Linked DNA regions of Homo sapiens: region 2 is linked to region 1. Evidence: promoter capture Hi-C in 16 types of primary human blood cells and fetal thymus (Javierre and others, 2016). All regions are on one chromosome and are shown on one strand. Each heading gives the region's core, a stretch centred on a gene start or on the middle of the fragment in contact. The rest is flanking DNA. Distances are from core to core; before and after follow the strand shown. Region 1 holds the start of MNX1-AS2 (MNX1 antisense RNA 2). Region 2 holds the start of LINC03010 (long intergenic non-protein coding RNA 3010).

What was found. The method cuts DNA at HindIII sites, captures the fragments that hold promoters and counts their contacts. A CHiCAGO score of 5 or more calls a contact.
Region 2: a fragment that was not itself captured here is called in contact with the fragment with the promoter of MNX1-AS2 in region 1 in 2 of 17 cell types (total B cells and naive B cells); the score reaches 16.7 in total B cells.

Annotation. Positions count from the first base shown.
Region 1 is chr7:157,001,243-157,008,585 of GRCh38, forward strand. MNX1-AS2 (MNX1 antisense RNA 2) reads left to right here and starts at 5,065. Exons shown (of 2, transcript NR_147077.1): 1 at 5,065-5,182; 2 at 5,635-5,878. It overlaps MNX1 (motor neuron and pancreas homeobox 1), which reads right to left. Exons shown (of 3, transcript NM_005515.4): 2 at 5,237-5,397; 3 at 3,612-4,631. The coding sequence ends at 4,278. RefSeq lists enhancers at 1,616-2,322, 4,039-4,691 and a silencer at 4,460-4,654. The HindIII fragment of the contact is 8,591 bases long and covers 3,254-7,343 here.
Region 2 is chr7:155,377,276-155,384,618 of GRCh38, forward strand. It overlaps LINC03010 (long intergenic non-protein coding RNA 3010), which reads left to right and starts at 4,801. Exons shown (of 3, transcript NR_147174.1): 1 at 4,801-5,040. RefSeq lists enhancers at 811-1,311, 4,047-4,858, 4,859-5,670. The HindIII fragment of the contact is 1,408 bases long and covers 2,457-3,864 here.

The DNA.
Region 1 (7,343 bases), core at 3,815-6,314:
GTTGTAGCATGTGACAGGATTTTCTTCTTTTTAAAGCCTGAATGGCGCTCCACCGTATGTGTGTACCACATTTTCCTCATCCATTTCTCTGTTGATGGACACGTAGGCTGCGTCCACCTCTTGGCAATTGTGAAGAGTGCTGCAATGAACTCGGGTGTGCAAATGTCTCTTTGAGATCTTTTTGTTTTTTCCAATTCTTTTGGATATATACCCAGAACTGAGACTGCTGGATCGTATGGTAATTTGACTTTTTTTTTTTTTTTTTTTTTTTTTTTGAGCCCTGTCGCCCAGGCTGGAGTGCAATGGCACGTTCTCGGCTCACTGCAACCTTCGCCTCCAGGGTTCAAGCACTTCTCTGCCCCAGCTCCCAAGTAGCTGCTACTACAGGCGCCCGCCATCACGCCCGGCTAATTTTTTGTATTTTTAGTAGAGACGGGGTTTCACCACCTTGGCCAGGCTGGTCTTGAACTCCTGACCTCGTGATCCACCCGCCTTGGCCTCCCAAAGCTCTGGGATTACAGGCGTAAGCCACTGCGCCCAGCCTGATTTTTAATTTTTTGAGGGAAATTCTGTACTATTTTACATAATGGCTATGCCATGTTACATTCTGACCACAGCTGCAATTTCTCCACATTCTCACCAACACTTGCTATTTTCTGTGCTTTTTGTTTGTTTTATATTGGCCATCTTAGCAGGTGTGAGGTGGATCTGTGGCTCTGATTTGCATTTCCCTGATGCTTATTGGTGTTGAGCATCTTTTCATATGTGTGTTGCCGTTTCAAAATTTTATTTGGAGTCATATCTATTCAAGTCATTTGCCCATTTAATTTGGTTTTGTTGTAGAGTGCTGAGAGTTACATAATCTGAACATTAACCCATTCCCTGATTCGCGTGTTGCAGATGATATCTCCCATCCCCAGGTTGCCTTTCACTCTTGTTGATCGTCCTTTGTGGCGCGTACGTTTTTCAGTTTGATGCAGTCCCATTTGTCTATTTTTGCTTTGGTTGCCTTGTGTTCAGTATCAAAGAAGGAAAGTCACCGGATGAGGGAAGGGACAGGTCCACCTCCTCTCCCTTCGAGCTGTTTCTTTACTCCCTGACACCAGGGATTAACCGGGGTCTCCTGGCTGCCTCTCACCTGGCAGCCGGAGCTCCAGGAGGGGCTGGAAAGGAGCCCCCTGGGCCTCCGTCTGGGGGGCGTGTGTGAACTGTTTTCTCCCGTCACAAAAAAGGCTTCCTCCACATGCGTTTGCACGCCCGGCAGAATTCGCCCACAGCAAGGCCCCCCTTTCTAAGAAGGGAGGAGAACCCACATTGGAGCAAAGAAAACGGTGGCCAAGAGGTGGGGGCCTCGGTAGGGCAAGGAGGCAAGGCTGGGTTCCAGGGGACAGGGTCAGCTTTGGGTGGGGCCCAGAGCCCCGGGTCGCAGTGACGGCCGCCGCAGGGGTCTCCCCCCGCGTACCTTCGCTTCTGTTGAAGGCAGTGAGATCCGCAGGCCTCCGGGACAGCTAGAGGACAGCAGACATGTCCCGTGGGGGAAGCCTGGGCCTGTCTGAAAACACCGCCTCAGCTCCCTCCGGGGTCCCCCTGCGTAGACCTGGCTTCAGGTCCGGAGAACCGGATTCTTGAGGGCTGCAAAGACTTTCTCCCCCATGCGCGGGGTCAGCTGGCGGCTCAGGTGCGATTGGAGGCCTGGGCCCCGAGGGACCACCGCCCCAGGCCGAGCCGAGTCAGCGACCCCGAGCGCGGCGCCCAGGGGTGGGGGTCGCGCCCGCAAGGCGGGCAGAGCCGGGCCTCGAGACCGTTCATTAGGCAGAATGAATTGTTCACCGTGCCCGGAGTGGATGAGGACGAGCCAGTGATTATATTTAAATTTGCTATAATTGATTTGGGGAAGAGCTACTGTGACAAGAACGAATTGATCATTAAATTTATTAGCGAGATAAATTCCGCGGCGACTGAGCGGCCTGCTGGAGGCGCAGGGGCCGGCGCAGGTCCGGGGCCTGGCTCTGCTGGAGGACGGGGGAGGGGCGGCCCTATTAACAGCGTCTTCCTTTGATGTCGCTCTTCCCCGCGTCCCAGAGGAAGCGCCTGTCCCCTGGGGGTAGAGGGACAGACCCTCCGCGGAGGCCTGGGGCACCCCAGCTCCAGGCCGAGCCCCCACTCTTCCCTGGCTGCCCAGTGTTGGTGAGGGCGCTGAGGCTGGGCCGGCTGAGCCCAAGGGGAAAATAATCCCCAGATGTGGGGCCAGCCAGGGGAGAGATTGCTGCAGGCTGAACCTCACCAATGTGTTAGAAATTAAAAAGAAATGTAGGGATTGCAGATTAAAAAAAAAAAAAAAAAAAAAAAAAAAAGCATCTGTCTTCCCCCCTTCCCTCTGGTTTTCCCACCCTCTTCCTCTGGGCACTCTGCCTCCTCCACCAGTGGCAAACCCTCTCCCAGTTCCCCTAAACACCTTTGGACCCCAGGCGGCGGAGGCCCGGCCCCTGCGCCAGCGCCCAGCAGCTGCTTCTGCCCGGACTCCCAGCAGCCGCGCCCCGGCCTTGGATGAGGTTGATTTTATGGAAGGGGCCCGGGGTGATAATGAGTTGCCAGAGAGGATATTAATCTCCCCGCGCCCTGAGGCAGAGGAGTGGCTGCGCTCGCCCCGCGGTAATCACCCAAATGAAACGCCAGGCCCTTCTGAACTCATTTTATCCGCTGGGAGGAGGGGAGGGGAGGAGGGAGGAGAAGGGCACACGCAGGTGCTGCTGAGAAAGTGACAAACAGAAGGAAGGAGGAAGGCCCGGGAGAAGGGATAGGAGCGGCGTCCCCGTCGCCCGTCTCCTCCGGGGCCAGGAGAGGCCACTGGGTCATCGATGGGGGAAGGGGGCCGGGAGTCGCGCCGGGCTGGGTGGGCCGCGGGCCTGCGCTCCTGGGCGGACGAGAGCGCGGGCTGAGCCCGCATGTGTGCAGCACATGGCGCTGGGCCTGGCTGCGGTGATTGATGGCGCGCGCTGCAGAGGCTGATTAACCCGGAGCCGCTGCAGCCGCGGTGTGGAGCGCTGCTGCAGTCCGCCGCTGTCCTCGCGGACTTGTTTGCACAGAGCCAAGAAGACCGATCCTGGCCAGCCAAGGAAGGTTCTGCTAACAGAGAGGGCCGGGGTCGAGGAGAGAGAGAAGCACCGCGCAATTCGGTGCGTTCCGGGAAATGTGCCTCAGTAGCGCCTGAGGTCACAGGGACCCCACATGCTACTAACGCCTAGTCGTTTTAAGCTTATTTTCTGAAACGTCCAAATAGCGTATTTCCACTTCTGGAGTGCCAACGAAGCAACAGCTAGCAAGGAAATAGGAAAATAAATAGAGTCCACAGCTCCGCTTCCGAGGGACACGTGTCCCGGGACAGGTGTGCACCAGGCAGCCGGGCATGCGCTGACACCTGGCCACAGGTATTTTTGCCAACACTTCACATTGCGACTCCCCAGTAGCAGGCGCGGAGGTGGTCCTGACACCCACTTGAGACTCCGATTTTCACCCTCAGCTGCCAACCGCCGAGTAGACACCCTCCCCATCATTTCTACAAGCAAATTGTAATGCCGCGGGCATAATCCCCCAAAACTCGTGCACGCTGATCCAGTACAAAACCAATTTATTTTACATTCCATCGTGGGCGATGGGAGAAGCTAAATAATAATTTAGCATGCATACGTAGACGTTTCTTTTTATATATAAATACAATATACAAAAATAAAGACAGTACAGTTTTGAGATTTCCAGCAGTTTGAACGCTCGTGACATAATCCCCCCGACCCCAGAGACGTAAGCATAAACCCTTTTTTCTTTTTCCAAATACTCTGCAGAATGGCGGCTCCAGAGGCGGTTTCAAGTTTCATAAGTCAGGTAACACTGTGGGTTTCCGCCTTCTCGGACGCGGGGAAAGGGGAGACAGGAGGCTTCCCCTTGCGCGGGGTGGGTCGGTTCTTCTCACACGCACTCGCGCCTCCCCCAACACCAACCAAAATTAATTTTAAAAGAACCAGAGTTCAAGTTTCAGCCCCCTGGGTCTCCCTCTCGCTGTTTCTTGAAGAGCAGGTGAGGCGCCCTTGCTTAAAAGGGAAGCGCCCAGGACCGGAGCCGCGGCCGAATCCCTCCAGCCCCGGCCTGGGCGAGGGGTCCATGGGGCGGCGGTCGAGCCTGCTCTCGGGGCCGGGCCGGGTGGGTGCGGGCGCCGGGGCCTCCGGGAGAAGCCGCCGGCCGGGGCGCTCCGTGCGCGCCGCACCTGCTGGGCCGCGGGGCTCCTACTGGGGCGCGGGCTGGTGGCTGGGCCGCGGGGGCGGCGAGTCGTCCTCCGAGGAGCAGTCGGAGGAGGCGGCGTGGACGCTGGCGCCGTTGCTGTAGGGGAAATGGTCCTCGTCGTCCTCGTCCTCGTCCTCCTCGGGGTCACTGTCCCTCAAGTCCCGCAGGCGGCGTCCGCTGCCCTTGTCTCCGGGCGCTGGCGGCCCCAGCAGCTCCTCGGCTCCCGGCTCCTCCGCGCCGCCCTTCCCCGCGCCCCCGCCGCCGCCCTTCTGTTTCTCCGCTTCCTGCGCCGCCTGCTCTTTGGCCTTTTTGCTGCGTTTCCATTTCATCCGCCGGTTCTGGAACCAAATCTTCACCTGCGGGCACAAGCGGGCGTGAGAAACCGGCCACCGCCACCCCAGGGCTTCCTGTCCCCGGAGTCCCCCGGCCGCGTGCGCCTGGGCCCCATTGGGTCGGCCCTGGAATGGCCTCAGGGTGAGACGACTTAGAAGCAGAATGGGGAGGGGGCTCGTAGCTTCCTCCTCCCCGCAACCCCCCACTCAGCAGCAAACCCCAGAGCTGGGCTGGAGCTCCGTGGGAGCTAGGACTATGTCCCCAACGACCCAGGCCGGGGACTTTTCTACCCGCGCCCTCCGTCTGCGGAGGAAGGGTCAGGGCAGCTGGCTACGTCGCGGTAAATCTCAGGATGTTCCCTCCTCTCTTTCTGGAACAAAATTTCTCGAATGCGGCCTGGGGATCACCTTCTTCAGAATGAAAGGAGGGGTGGTTAAGTGCTGATTCTTGGGCCCCACCCGAAGCTACTGAATCGGCGCTCTGGGCACCTTAGATGAACCCGTGCGCCCGCCGTCTGAACCGTCGAGGCGCAGCGCTAGATGCCTCAGACCGCCCGTGGGTCACAAGTGCAAAGGTAACAGTGTCCCCTGGGAGGCCGGGATGCGTCGGGGGCGGGGAGGGCGCGCACCTGGGTCTCGGTGAGCATGAGCGAGGTGGCCACCTCGAAGCGCTTGGGCCGCGACAGGTACTTGTTGAGCTTGAACTGGTGCTCCAGCTCCAGCAGCTGCTGGCTGGTGAAGGCGGTGCGCGGCCGGCGGCACTTCCCCAGGAGGTTCGACTGCGCCTGGGCTGGGGACCAAAGGGCAGTGAGGCCCACAGCCGGCTCCGGTCCTCGCCCCAGCCCCTCCCGTTGCTGCTTGTACCACTACACTCAAGGCCCCAGCGCCAAGGCCTGGCCCTGCAGAGGGCGGGGCTGTTCCCTCACTATCAGTGCCCACTCCCCAAGGAATGCGGACTCAGGACCACCAAGTGGAAATGGATAGTTTGGAGTTAATGAGACCAATTTTTTTTTTTTTTTTTGTCTAGGAGACGTCTGAGTGTCCCTGTTAAACAGGGCCCATCGCAGGAGGCTTCCTCTCCACAGGAGCCGGCTTTGGTAGCAGTGGATTGACCCAGAGGCAAGAGGAGAACTGAGGCCAGTCGGGGGCCAGGAAGGGAGGTTCCGGGAAGCCCAGGAGTTGAAGGCTGCAGTGAGCGAGACTGCACCCCTGCACTGTACCCTGGGTGACACAGCAAGACCCCATCTCTCAATAAATAAAAAATAATAAAATAATAAAATAAAGGAGCAGTGAGTGATGAGAACCAAATCTCTCCCCCTCTCCTCACTGCGCCTTCCTAGAGATTCAGGCTCAGATCCAAACAGGTCTGGGAAGAGCTGGTCCTGCTGTTCCAGGTCTCCCTGCACTGCCTCCTTAAGACAGAAAAGGAGGAGGAGGAGGAGAAAAAGAGGAAGGAAGGAAGGGAGAGAGGGAAAGAGGGAGGGAGGAAGGAAAGAAGGAAAGAAGGAAGGAAGGAAGGAAGGAAGGGAGGAAGGGAAGGGAGAGAGGACAGGTGGAACAGGACCAAACCCAGGGTCCAAGTCTGTGTATTCACCAGGGACCCTCCCACCTTCCAAATGTTTTCCTTGGCATGCCCCCTCCTCAGGGTGCGGGCGGCAGGGGCAAGGCCTGAGGAGACTAGAAGCCTTTTCAGGACAATTCTCATTACGCAAATTACAGGCAGAGGCGCAGGCAGGATCCGGTTCTCTGTGTGTTCAAGGAGGCCTGCCCGGCTTTATTTACATAATTTCGCACGGTTACATCACAGAGAATTTTATGACCTCAAAACGAGACTTCCCTTGATTTCCCAGGAGCCTGACAAGTGTTGGACAATAAAAGAAAGAAAGCAAAGGAAAGAAAGGAGGCCAGCCCCAGGCCTGGATGAGCTCAGGTCCCCCGGGATGGGCAGTTTGCTTTAGAGGATGGCCCACGCCCCCTGCTTTAGTCAAACAAGGCCCCGAATTCCCAACTTGACAATACATTAGAACTTTAATTAAACCACTGGCTCCGGAGGGACCATTTGGGAAATGCCATCCAACAGGCAGAGACAACCAATTAAAGAAACCAAACAGGTTTTCCCCGGACCAGCGAGGAGGACTTCTCAGAACACATTCCGCCGTCTTTGGCACGGTTATGCCTGCCCTTTTGGATTGCCAGGTGCAGATACCTCTTCTGAACTTAAGACTGGTTGTGTTTAAAATTTGGCCAACTCTAGGTCAACATTTGGAATCAGAAATAGGCAAGGTGTCTCACTTTAATAAATTTTCTGAGTGACCCTGGGCTCCACGAAGCTCCAGAAAGCACCCCTAGGAGGCCTAGGACCACGGGCCCCCGGGGCTGGCCAGCCCCCTCCGTGGGCAACTTAGCGTCCTTGGCTCTGGGAAATGCAGGTCATATTGGTGGCTTTCTATCAGAAGGGATGGGCCCTGGGTCGGCACCCTGGGTTTAAGCCCAGGCTGGCAGGGGATTCGCAGACGCAGACGTGTCTGAGGTGAGGGGCAGCTTTCCCTCTTCCAGCCAGTCAGTAGGGCTGACTCTCCCAGGTGAGGGATGGGTGACCACTGGGGCCTTCTTGGAGCTGAGCTAGGAAAGCCTGGGGCGGCTGTGGGCAAACAGCCTTCTGCAGGGATTCTTCTCACCCTCTTGTGACTTCTCCAGCCTCTGGGGTCCTAGATTTTCTCTGTTTAGTCACAACCA
Region 2 (7,343 bases), core at 1,911-4,410, 1.6 Mb before region 1:
GCTTGGCCAAAAGACGGCTTTTGGACTCTGCTCAACTCAGGGGTTTTATGACACCTAATAAAGCTATACTTAGAGAAGACAAATATTCAATAAATATGAGCACATACTTACAAACATATGTACTGTTTTCACTTTTCTTCTTCCAAACCTACTTTTACAGCAGTTTATTATTGGATATGAATTTCCCCTTCTCCATTTCTCATCACAAATTAGGTGGGCTCCTAAAGCGTCCCATTTCTCCCTTTAGATTTGGGGCCCCCCAGCTGATAAAGGAGTTGTGATTGCAGGTGGATTTGATCTGATTTCCCCTGAACAGGCTGGCGGTGGGAAGCAGGCATTGGAGTCCCACGGCTCACTGGACTGCAGCAGCGAGCCCTTCACGGTTGCAAAGGAAGGAAATTCCTAGCGGGGCAACTCTTCAGCGTCCGCCCCACAGACCTAGCACGATGTCCTTTTCTGTCTCAAGATACATCTGGCTGGGCTTCCCTAAAACCGGGCTTAGTTGGACTCCTTGGACCTGGGGATGAATTCTTGCCAACTATCTCCAAATATTTCCCCTACACCATGCCAGTGCAATTCATGTCTCCAAACCCCCTCTCCTCCACAAAAACGAAACAAAACAAAACCCCAGGTCCAGGAGCTCAGGCCCAGGCCGGATCCAAGACGCGGCAGCCAGGCAGCCCCGCCGCGAGCCTGTGCGGGCTTGAGCCGGCTTGGCCCCCGGAAGCCCCAGCCCCGCGCTCGGCAGCGTGCGCCCAGCGCCCAGAAGAAGCAGCTCCAGGCGGCCGCGCTCCCCGTCCCGCCGCGGTGCGGTCGGATGCCCAGCTCGCGTCCAGACCCGCGGGATGCAGACCCGGATCAGTCAGGCTTGAGGGCTGCTCCGCATAGACCAACGTCCGGGGAAGGCACACAGTGGCCGAGGGCCCGCGCGCTTGGGCTACGGCTGTGATGGTATCTGCGCTGCTTGCGCCTTGGGGATGGGAGGCCGCCTTTGCTGACTGAAGGGCCTGAAGAGGAGGCTTCTGGGGTCCCTGTAGCCTCACCCTGGATTCACAAAATCAAACACTATCTCCTTTCCCCTTCACCACCCCCACCCCACGAATACACATGGTGAAGAGAGGTTCACTTCTGTTCCTGTTGCTGAGTTTCAGCTATGCCCCTCGGCCTCGGAGGATGGCTCACCTTTACTGTGAATTTCTAGCTGAAAGAACAATGCTGAGAACAGGGATAACAAGAGGACCTCTCTAACAAATGCATCTGCTAGTTACAAAAGGGCTGGGAAGAACGGCTCAGGGACATTCCTCCCAGACCCAAGGAAAGGGAATGGAGACACATTTTGATGTTTTCTACATACTTGGTCAACTTGCAGCTACTATAGAACCCGCTCCCCACGGCCAGCTCTTCCTCCTGTTTTAGGGAGAATTTTGTTCAACATTCTACATTCTAGGGACCCTTCCTCATCAGATTAAGTGCAGAGTTACAGCAAAATAAGTCAGAGGAGAAGGATGGGGTAGAGATGGAGCGGAAGCTGGCGCTGGAGCCACTGTGTCCTGCCGGCTGCACCTGCACTCAATCTCAGGTACCATGCTGGACAGTGGGGAAAACAAAAACCTGGAGAACAGCCCAGAAAACTCCGCCAAGGTTTTATAGCTTAAAGATGGGGAGAGGAGGAGGCAGGAAGGGTTGGGCTCTGCAGGCCTTTAGAACGATCGGAGGTCTAATGAAAATAAATACCTTGTAAACATGTGGGTACCAAGTAACCAGAAGAGAGCTTAGACCAAGAAGGTCGGGGGGTCTTTTCCCACCTGTGAGAAAATAAGAGATCCTGGAGCTCTGCAGCCTTAGCAATGAACTGGATTACTGATTAGTGTTTAGAGGCACCCATGCATGAGTTGGCAAACCAAGCCATTGAAATGTGGAATCAGCAGGATCTGGCTTTTTGAATGTCCATTACTTCTCATGTACATGCATATCTATGTTAAATATGGAAAAGAAGAAAAAATTTAAAAGAGAAACAGAACCCTGCTTTACCAGATTAATCAAAATGGAATGATAGATTCTTGAGTTTGAAATAACCCCCGCCCCAGGAATTCTCCAGCGTCTCTGCAAGAAGCTCTCAGACAGACAGCAGTTAAACAAGGTCGGCAAAACCGACTCTCAGATTCAACAAACTGCTCTTTCTGTTTCTGCAACAGGAAGAAAACATTCCACGAGCTGATGGAAGCCCTCACAGACATACATCTGTTATGGCTTTCCCAGAATCCTGACCCCTGGACAATTCTTTTGGGAACACCCTTCTCTATCTAAGGAAAATGACATTCCTAAACCCTGCCCTGCCACCTCACATATGCAGAGTCTGAAAGGGAAGCCAAAACCCCTTGGTCATCCTCACTCTCAGCCCTCTGCCCAAAAGGGGGAACTTTGATCAAATGCAACTTTCTTCTCCTTTGGCCCCAAGCTTCTGTGCCCTCAGTTCACACTCACCCAGAATGCAAAAGCATTTGGATTCAGTGCTGTCCCCTCTGGCTTTCTGTCTGTCATTTGGCCTGGAAAGGACGGTCAGAAATGCCATGGACAGTTACAATTCGACTCAGTAACTTCCACATGGCTCATGAATGTCCTTGGCCACCCGGGAACTGCAGCCCTCTGCCCCCCAAGTTAATTGCTAAATGATTTGCAAACTTAAACAATTATACATTCTCTCTTGACTTGCCCCGAAGAAATCATGTTAATTTATGACACACTCACATGATCCTGATTAACAAACCTAGACTAAATTTGCATGTGGCAAAATGCAATACAGATATATATTTTAAAAAATAATATAAGCAGGTTTTTGCCAACTCTTTTCTCCCACGGTTTAATGACCTACCATCCTGGTTCATACGTTTTTTAACACCTGACTTTGGATATTTTTTTAAAATGAATCGATTTGTAGTCATTGCCTGGCTGCCTGTGGGGAAGGAGCTCCTGCCGTTGGCAGACACCTCTGCAGCCAGGCGTGGGGTGTCCTTCCATCAAAGCAACGCCAGGGGGCAAGAAGCGTTAACAAAGCCCGGGACGCTCCGCACTCTCCCTTTATCTACCCGTGTGTGCGTGTCACACTTTCCAGGGCGAAATGTCATTTTGCAAGGTTATACATTTCCAATTCCTCATAGAGCCTTATCGCTCATCATTTACCTCTTGGGCACAAACAAACAGCCTCTTTAAATAAAGCCAGGGAAGGGAAGCATATACCTTTGTACAATTAAAAATAGCACAAGAATGCCAAAATGTATTGGACCTTGCTGTTAATCCGACTTACCTGGCTGACACTCTGGCCTAATCCTATTTTCTCCTCGCATTAGAATGACTCTACAAGGCTACGTTTTGTTCTTCGGGAGCACAGTTTACCTGGCCAGTGGGCTGAGGATCAGAGAAGCCTCACCACCTAAGGTGGGGAGAGGGGCTGCAGACTGCCCAGCCTGGCCCCAGCCTGCTGGAGGTCCCAGTGCAGAGCCTGCTTGGCGAGACAGAAAGCAAACGAAATCACTCAAGGGAAACTTCGCTGGAGACAAAACACATTCAATTTCCTGAGGATTCTGCTTTCTCTCAGGAATTATTTGCTTTTGCCGAGGCACATTAAACAAATTAAACACTAAAAATGGAAGCTCCTTTGCTTCCTGGCTCAGAAAATAGTTTTTTTTTTAAAGGATATAGTACGAACAGTAATACAAATGAAAGAAAACAGTAACACTCTAGCTCTTTAAAATAAACTCATGTGGGCACCTAAAGTCCTTTTTGGCAAATTCTTATCTTGTGGGGCAGTGCAGACAATGGGAGCTTGTGCTAAACGGCTGCTGTCACTCTGCTGACATTCCAGGAAGCTTCCACGCAGCTACTTGGGCATCTTTTCACACCTTCACCTTCCAAACCGCAGTCCCTGGTGATCCTGACTTTTGCAGCCTGGCTCTGGGTCCACACGGGGCTGGAGAAGGGGATTCGGTCTGAATGGGTTCGTGGAGGGTGGGGCAGGGGGCTGAGCTGAGGAACGCGCTGGCGAGGGAGTCAGATACTGTTACTTCGTATTTTAGGAATGTATTTCTCCTGCACACCCCTCCCTCCCCTGCCCACCCCCCTCTCCCAGTATCATTGCTCTTTGAAATGTCATGAACTTGGCGCTTTCAGACCAAACCGCCGGGCTCAGGCCCGAGACAATGGGATTGTCAGAGGGCCAGCGCGGAGCTTTTTCTGCGTGTTCACGGAGCGTTAAGCCTTTATCCCACAGAACGGCTCTGTCTGACCGGGTCAGACAAAAGCCAACTTGCATCTTCCGCTCCGAGGGGATCTGGGCAGAGCCCGGGTACAGCCCTGCGCGGCCCCAGGGAGAGGGGGGAGAGGGCGCGTGTCCCCAGCCCTGCCAAGTGGCGTGGGGAGCGCGAGGCCCTCCTCGGTCAGAGCCACCAACTCTGGTCTCCGTGGACATCCCCCTTCCCCCGCCCGCTCCCGAGGCTCTAGGGCGGCCTCCTGGCCGCTGCCTTCTCGCACCCAGGGTCTTCGGCCTGGGCTCCACACCTCAGGCCCCTCAAGTAATCGGCCTCTTGGTGGCCGGGCACTGCCTTTCCGGCTGCTCTCTGCACCCGTCTGCCCCTCCGGCCTCCCCTGGCGGCTACAGGCGTCCGGGGCCCTCGCTCCCCAGCTCCAGGCGTCCCGGGAGCCAGGCGCGCAGCGGGGCGAGTTCTCGTGTCCGTGTGAGCGCGGGCGTGTGTATGCGTGCGCGTGCACGAGCGTGAGTGTGCGTGAGCGTGAGTTTGAGTGTGCATGCGGGTGTGAATGTGTACATGTACACGAATGTGAGTGTGAGTGTGCATGAGCGTGAGCGTGCGTGTGCGTGCGAGTGTGCACGAGCGTGACTGTGAGTGTGCGTGCGTGGAAGCGCGGCGGGGAGCCTGGCTGAAGGCCTGCTGCCTGCATGGCTGTCAGAGAAAAACAGAAGTGGGAGCCTGCTGCGGGCTCCGAGAGGACTTGATGGGAGCCCTGGCGCGCGCTGGGCACCGCGCGGTGAGTGTCGGGGGTGGGGGCCGCGGGTCTCCAGCAGCCCCTGCCCTGTGCGGACCGCCGCCCCGAGGGTCCCTGCTTGCGGGTCCGGGGCTGGGCGTGCCTGGCTCCCCCTTGCCCCCTGCTCCACCGGCAGGATTCAAGGGACGAGAGCTCTGGGCTGCGGAGAGTTGCCCTGGCTGGCCCCGTCCTGCAGCAAAGGGCGGGCGGCGCGAGTGGAGTGTGCGGGGCAGGCTGGGCGGCAGAGGGAGCCCAGGGGAGCCCATGGCATGGCACCGCCAGTGTGGGCTTATGAGGAGGTGCAGGCCGGGACCTCAGGCTGTGGGCAGGACCGCAGGCAGCGGCTGGCAGGCTCCAGGCAGGCTCTGGAGGACCCGGGATTTAGGTATTTATGCAGTGAGAAGGCAGGGGTTTGGGTGTTCTTTCTCCCCTCTTCCTCCTTGGAATTCAATTTCTTCGAAGGGCAGGGGGCAGGCCGGGAGGGAGGGACAGAGAAAGAGGCCGCGAGCCACAAATGCCGCCCCCCATCTGTTCAGTAGGGCTCACTTCCTGAGGCAGGGGTCCCTAGCACAGGGTCTGGGGAAGGCAAGGTGGGGGGTATAGGCTACCCAGATAAGGAGGGACTTGCTAGGTAGTGGCCCTGGGTCTTGAGGGGCTGGTTCCATCCCGATTGGTCCCCTGGTGCCTGGAGGGCTGTGGAGGGTCCCAGGCCTAGAGTTGGGGGCTGAGTGGGAGGACGGGCCTCACAACCTGGGATTTCTTTCCAGCTTCTGGGTCTGGATCTGGGCCTCCAGTCCCCAGCTGTGAAGCAGGAAGGGAGGGAGGGAGCCTTTCTGAGACCCTCCAGCCTCTACCCTGCAGGAAGAGGTGGATGTAACCTTGAGCATAACCTTGAGCAAGTCTTCCCAGCTTTTTAGGCCTCCACTTCCTCACCTGTAAAAGGAGCTGATGGGGGTAGACCATGTCGAATGTTACTTCTGGCTGAAACATTTTTTGTTGTGTTTTGTTTTAATTTGTGCAGAGTTGGACCTACTCTCTCATGGTGCAAATTTATTTCATTTCAGTTTCCGAGGCCAGGCATAGAATCCCTGTATATTCCCAGGGACAGTGACGCCTTATGCAGAGGATGGGCAACATAGAAAATAACCCTACCTGGGGGCACAGACAACTTATTCTTTAAAATGACCAAATGAAGCTAAATTGAAACAAAATTTTTTTTAAGTGAAATGAAACCAGTGATGCTGAGACTGAGTTGGCAGGCTGGGGAGGAAGACCTGGAAGCGTGTGTGGGCTCTCTGGGGAGTGCTCCTGGCTGGGTGCGGTCTCGGGTGGCCAGGCTGGGCAGAGGCGTTTCAGGATTTGATGGGAATCTTTGGCCTTGAGCTGTCTCCCCTACCTGCAAAGGCCAAGGCCTTCCCTCCACTGGCTGAAGTTGGTTGGGCTCTGCCCATCCATCCGAGCCTGCAAATTACTCACGGGGGGCTGCTAGTGCTGCCTGTGCAGGCTGGGGCCAGATGGGAACACTTTGTGGGGGCTGGCCAGCCTGGGACAGCAAGCAGCTGCTAGATTATTCCAACCCCTTTCTGTGTTCTTCACACCAGCAGGGGCTGGGGAGGCCGAGAGCCACAGCACAGCTTCAGAGAGGCCCCTTGGAGGTGTTCACAAACCCCCTGCTTCCCAGGAGGGGCACCCAGGTGTAGTTCCAGCCTAGCCTCTTTTCCCACGCCCGCCTTCTCTGGGGGGTGTCTCTGGGGGGTGTCTGGTCTGCGGAGCAGGGTCCAGACTTGCTTGTCTCCACGCTTCTCAACGCCTCCCCTCCACTGCCTCCTGCCTGGCTTCTCAGCAGCGGTGGGTGCTGGAGGTGGACTGGGTCATCTCCCCAGCCTCCCCAGCCTCCCCAGTCCTGCTCACCTGTTGGGGAATCACTGCCTGATTGTCACTTTACCCCTCTGCATCAGCTTCCCGGCATTGCCTTAGCGAAGTGCCACAAACCGGGGGGCCTACACAACAGGAATGTGTTCCCCCACAGGACCGGAGTCCAAAGTCCAGGCGTGGGCAGGGCCCTTCCCGCCCTGTTGGCCTCTGCTGTCTCCAGGAACGCTTGCTCCCTGGGCTCAGAGGTGCAGCATCCCAAAGCCACCTCTGCCTTCGCCATGTGGCTCTCACATGGTGCGCGTCTGCCCTTCCCATCCCGGCTCCTGAAGGAGAGCACTTGGAGAAAAGTGGGGATGCTCTATTGCTGCTCTCCCCACTGCTTGGTGTACCCCTGACGCCCTCCTGGGCCCTCACACCCTGGAGCACCCTGT